2 separate regions of the Homo sapiens genome follow, and region 2 is linked to region 1. Evidence: promoter capture Hi-C in 16 types of primary human blood cells and fetal thymus (Javierre and others, 2016). All regions are on one chromosome and are shown on one strand. Each heading gives the region's core, a stretch centred on a gene start or on the middle of the fragment in contact. The rest is flanking DNA. Distances are from core to core; before and after follow the strand shown. Region 1 holds the start of BDH2 (3-hydroxybutyrate dehydrogenase 2). Region 2 overlaps PPP3CA (protein phosphatase 3 catalytic subunit alpha).

Evidence for each region. The method cuts DNA at HindIII sites, captures the fragments that hold promoters and counts their contacts. A CHiCAGO score of 5 or more calls a contact.
Region 2: a fragment that was not itself captured here is called in contact with the fragment with the promoter of BDH2 in region 1 in 1 of 17 cell types (activated CD4 T cells); the score reaches 5.6 in activated CD4 T cells.

The regions. Positions count from the first base shown.
Region 1 is chr4:103,098,375-103,101,354 of GRCh38, reverse strand. BDH2 (3-hydroxybutyrate dehydrogenase 2) reads left to right here and starts at 1,521. Exons shown (of 10, transcript NM_020139.4): 1 at 1,521-1,572. The HindIII fragment of the contact is 3,413 bases long and covers 1-2,404 here.
Region 2 is chr4:101,183,871-101,186,753 of GRCh38, reverse strand. All of the region lies in intron 2 of PPP3CA (protein phosphatase 3 catalytic subunit alpha), which reads left to right. Among named protein-coding and RNA genes, the nearest start is that of MIR8066, 56 kb to the left of the region's middle. The HindIII fragment of the contact is 1,837 bases long and covers 550-2,386 here.

The DNA of each region.
Region 1 (2,980 bases), core at 272-2,771:
AACTAAGTCCAGTTTTTAAAAGAACATTAAAAAGCGCAACTTTTACCATCCATTATAATTAAATTTCTCCAACAATGTCTTCATCATAAGAATCACTAACATGTATTAAGCACCTGTGTGGCAAACATTGTGCTGATGGATTCACAGGCTTAGTCGTTCCTCCTCACCACATCCCTGAGGTAGGTGCTATTTTACCTTCATTTTACAGATGAGAAACATAAGAGGTTCAGAGATTTAAGTGATTTACTCACTTAGCTAGTGAGAGAGAGATATGGGACTTGCTCTAGTCTTACTGACGCCACAGTCTTTGTTCTTATCCCCTGTGACTGTTAGAAATCACTTAGCTCCATGTAACAAAAAACGTGAAAAACACTAAAGTTTATTGTCCTCACATAAGAAGTCCAGAGGAGTTGTTGCCTTGAGGCTGTCATCAGGGCCGCAGGCTCCTTCTCTTGCTGGTCCCTGTCGTTAATGTGTGCCTCTGGCCTCAGATGAACTCACTAAATGGCTGCTCTGTCCCACGGCATCCTATCTTCATTCCAGGCAAAAAGAAAGGGAGGAGCAAAAGCTAAAAGCCTTTCAGAAGGGCTTACTTTTCTATTTAAGAAGGAGGCCCTCCTCAGAAATTCCCACCTGCATTTCATTGGCAACATCTATGCTGCTTGGCCACCCCTAGCAGCAAACAAGGCTATGAAGTAGAGACTTTTGTTTTCCAGCTTTGACAAGTGAAAAAAGGGGAAAGTGAGTTGGATGGGTGCTGAGGAAACCAATTTATACAGTACATGTACAAGTAGCCTACACAATCACTCTGCTCACTGGCACTACAGATAAAGCACATGTTGCTATCCTAACCTAGAGGGCTCATGAGATCTAGTCCTTTCTTTTTGACCTTATATCTCTGTTCTCTTCAGCCAAACTGGGGTTTTTCGCTGTTAACATGTTCCCTTTTAAGCCTCCACCCTGTCATCCAAGTTTCACGTTCTCCCCAACCCCATTCCCAGTGTAGTAAAAGGCTCCTGGCATTCTGCCACTAAATGTGCATTAGTGTTAGAATATTCTGAGCATGAAAAAATAAAAATCACAACTGTATCTCAAACAAAAAGGATTTTTTTTTTTATTTCTCTCCCTTAAAACAATCCAGGCCAAGTGACAGGAAGGCTCCAGAATTTTCAGTGACCTGGGTTCCCTCTATTTTGTTGCTCTGCTATCTTCCACACGCAGTTTCCAGCTCAGCCAATCTCGTCTACCCTGGCACCGCATATAGTAGGCATAAACAAAACAGAGAAGTGGAGAGACTGAAGTGAAGGAAATGATTTCCGCATCCTAAGTAAGCTCTAAGGTGCTTTTCCACTTTTCACCTTCCACTTGGAATTCATAGTTCTACCTGAATTCCACTAGATGGCAGCACATACATTTATAAAGTGTATGGATGGAGCCACTAAACTCTGAAAGCAGGGAAACTACAAATCCCAGCATGCATTATTAAGCGCTTGACTTGCTTCCAGACAAAGGTTGTCTCAAGTTTGTTGCTCAAACCGAGTTCTGGAGAACGCCATCAGCTCGCTGCTTAAAGTAAGATTTCCTAATACTTTTGAAATGAAACTTTAGAACGGAAAGAGGGGAGGTTTAATTTTTAGATGTTGTTTTTTTCTGCACGTTGCCTGTTTCAAAATTAATCTGAGCAGTTAGATCAGTGTAAAGATGGGTTTTTAAAGAGCCTGAAACTCTGTGGTATGTATGTTTTATAAAGTAGCCCAAGAAAAAAGGATTCTTACGGTATCCTAAGTGAAGAGTTTTCTTCCTGGCTCTTGAAAACAATGGCTTCCTGAATATGCTGTTTGTGTCTCTGCTAATCAAAAATCAACATTTTGATTCTAACTTTTGGACTAAGGAAGCCAACATGTATGGTTTTCACATTGGATATATTGAGAGGTGCCTTGTTTTACCATTTCAGGCCGTGTTTGCTCTCATTTTCTCAAAGAAATCTGTTTTAGTTTGAGATTACAGTTTATCAAATGTTAAGGCTTTGACCCCAAAATCTGGTCCCAGAAAGACAGGAAGGCCAGCTAAGAGGAGGTTTTCAGAGTGCATAGAAAGGCTGCTCTGTGCTTCGGCATTTGTTCTGGAAGTGCTTCTTCGGTTGGCAAAGATTCCTAGCAAAACCTTTGACTGGAGGCTTTACAGGGCCATACACCCAATATCACTAATGACAGTGTTGTAAAATAGCTTTTGTGCACCATGCTTAGGATTCAAGGAGGATAAAGTATATCTTTCTAAAGTTATACTTTAGAAACTGTCATTCCATGTTGAAATGATAAACATTCCATGTTTATCTTTTGTGTAAGAAGTAAAAAAGCAAAAATTCATTGCATCAAAGTAGGTCAGGCACTGTTAAAGCCAAGCTTCCCCATCGCCTAAAAAATGTGGACAAACTCAGAGGAAGTCAGTGATTATAAGCTGATCCCTGGAGCCAGTTCTTACATAATTGTGTTAGTCTGCTCCTCCAAGAAGCAGACTCCAAGATAGAATTAAATATGCATGGATTTTATTAGGGGAAATGCTGTTGTGAGAGAGAATGAGGAGAGAACTAGGTAAGGCTGTGAGAGCCATCAGACCTCGATGCAAGTCCACCCGCGAGGGAGGAAAAGAAGGAAACCAGGTTGAGTGGAAGCATCCCAGACAGCTGTGCAGTCTAAGAGAACTTCAGCAAGGTAATAAGGAGCTTCTCTAGCCAGTCATCCGTTGGGGAGGAGGTCTATGTCTCCCAGAAATGAGTCTGCCTTAGTAAGCATGCATGCTCAGGCACTGGCTTGTAACGGCCCCGAGAAGGTGGCCTCAGCACAAACCCAGAGAGGCAGCAGCAGCTGCGCCTCATTGTCCATTACTTCCTGGGGTCAGCGGTCTGCGAGGCACAGGCTCCTGGTGCCACAGTGGGGATTTAGAGAGGCCCGCAGGGCTTTGAGTACCATGAGACAATGCC
Region 2 (2,883 bases), core at 219-2,718, 1.9 Mb after region 1:
ACTGAGAGGGCTGTGCTGTGACAGAGTGTGCAGATAGTTCCTCCTAACCACAGCTGTCCCCTACTTACCTTTTCTAAATTCCAAATGAGTTTTAATTCGAAAGAAAATAAATTTTGTTTTCATGAACATATTTTGCGCTATCAGTATATCAATTAGAAAGAAGAAAATGAAAAATAAAAAATGGGAAATATGAGCTATTATATATTAGAAAACTAGAAGTAAATAGCCAAATATATGCAAGGGTGGGCTTTGCTAAAGAGTCCCATGTCAAAGTAATAATTTCTTTATATTTGATGATTGAGAATCATTTGGATGTAAATACATTTTCATTTCATGTTTGGGTAATTGACTTTTTAACAGTTCATGGAACTACCAACAAAGTGTACATTATTTGGATTTTACATTTCCCAAATAATATGCAACTTTAGATTGCTTTCTGACATTTAAATCAGAAAAATGTTGCAGGGATTTTCAGTGAGTTTTTCTCCCTCTCATTGGCAACCCTAAACTATTTGGGGGTATTTCGTTCTATACCTCTTTGTCAAAGCTTTCTAGGGTTTCTAGAAAGCTCAGGCTGTCTTTATAACAATTTCTTAGTATGTTTCAACATGCTAATAAGAAAACACTAGGCAAATATCATTTCAGTTGGGGAAATGAAGAAATTGTAAGTTAAAGGATCATGCGTCAAAACAATATAATATTGATTGGCCTCAAATACGCCTTTATTCTTTTGTACACTATAAAGAAACTTAAACCATTTTTAGATAGGAGCTAATATTTCAGCTTCTGTTTTAAGCAATGAATGAACTCAGCAGTAACTCTGGGAGATAGGTGTTCTTTGGATATCCATGTAATAGATGAGAAGATTGAGACATAGAAAGGCTTACAGAGCTTGCCCAGGGTCATAGACTTAGGCTGTCCACAGCCTGGAGTTCTTGGTTCTAAGGCCATGACCCTTCCATTAAAATATTACTCAAGGCCAGGCAGTCTGGTTCCAGAGCCCAGTGTCTTATGAGGCAGGGAAGGTGGCCATAAACCATTGATTAAAATACTCTTGAATAGGAATTTCTCCTAATATTCTCCACTAATGCTTTGAAACAGGTTTCTAATTGACACCCATGTTTATAAGCATCAAATTATTCCCTCAACATCATGCAACCTGTAAAGAAGGCATGCTACAGGTAGTGAAGTTAGTGAGGTGAAGTAAAAATTAGAATGTTTGAAGAGCTAGTTAATATTTTTAAAGTGAATACATAGTTTTTATTTTCTTTTGTCTTCCCCCACATGACCATGTTTCAAAAGTTTAGCTTTAGAAGTTGCTTTCAAGTACTGTGTTAGAGATATTGGAATCATTTTAAAACAATCTTGAAATCCTTCTAATGCCCCTCAATGAAATTCAGATAATTTACATAAGACCTCAGTTCCTGTTGGTCCTCCAGTGAAGGATGAACCCCAGAATTATTTTCTTCTTCTTCCTTCCACCTCTTTCTTCAAAATTCTCATCAAATAGTATTTATTGTATAACACATAAAAATAACAAAATATTATTACCTCGCAAATCTTGTCTGAAATTTTACTTTTTTTTTTTCCTAGTTAGAAGAATTTTGGCATGCAAGTGCTGAATTATTTTATATATTTGGGCTATCTAAGGAGACAATTTAAACAACTGACTTTAGCATAGGACCAAGTAAAATTTCATGATGGCATTTGACTACCATTTAAAAAGACATTTTGGACCTCCCTTTTGGCTTAACTAAGGCATATAGCTTGCAATTTTTTGCCTCCTGCTCCTTCTTGCATTTCTGTGGGACTGCCGCAGCTCCCCCAGTGACTGATTCCTGCTTGATGCGGCAGTGTGCAGCCATAAGCCCTTGCCTCACCCTGGAATAAAGCACCTAGTTTAGCCCTTCCCTTCTAACTCCAAGTGCTAAAGAATGGTAATTAGCATTCTTTGGACCTTTACTACATGCCTAACAATATACTAAAGGTTTTATATGCTCTGTTGAGCAATCTTGTGAGGTGTAGGTACTGTTGCTATTCCCAAAGTTAGAGAAGGAAATCTGTCTAGTAGATACATAGTGTGAGCTACATGTATAATTTTAAATTTTCTAAGAGACACTTACAAATTTTAAAAGAAACAGGTGAAATTATTTTTAATAATGTATTTCATAACTTCAGCTTTCCAAAATATTTTCATTTCAACATGTAATCAATATAAAATTGTTAATAACATATTTTGCCCTCTTTTTTTTACTAAGTCTTTTACTTCTGATGTTTATTTTATACTTAAGACACATTTCAGTCTGACTATATTTCATGTGCTCAATTGCCACTTGTGGCTAGTAGCTACCATATTAGCACAGTTATAGATAAAGAAGCTGAAGCTTGGCAATAAGAGCCTTAGTAAATGCAGCCGCAGGAATCAAGTGCAGGGAACTGATTCTGGGCCTCAAGCTCTCAATCAGCACAGTATACCATCTCAGGACCTGGATAGTTTCTTCCTTCAACTTACAAGCATCACCTTGTTAGATTCTTCTGTGGCTTTAACTGCCTGTATCACAACTAACGAGCATAGTCAGGTTCCATTCTCTACCTATTTCTTTCTCTTTCAGTTGATCCTGTGGTGTTAGCTCTGTGTCTTTGATCCATTTCCCTGTTGAGTCAAAGGACATAAAATTACAGACCAGTGGAAGTCTATGGGAGTCACTTCTCTTTTTTCTGACCTAGCTACTTTTGTCTTCCCATAATTGTGAGCTTGGGCCTGTAGAATGTATGCACTATTTGCTACTTACAGTTAGAAAGCCTCTGTAACTAGCCATTCCTCATAGTAGTGATTCTCAAAGCAGTGTGGCACAAGGTTCATAGGGTAAGTGTATCATAATT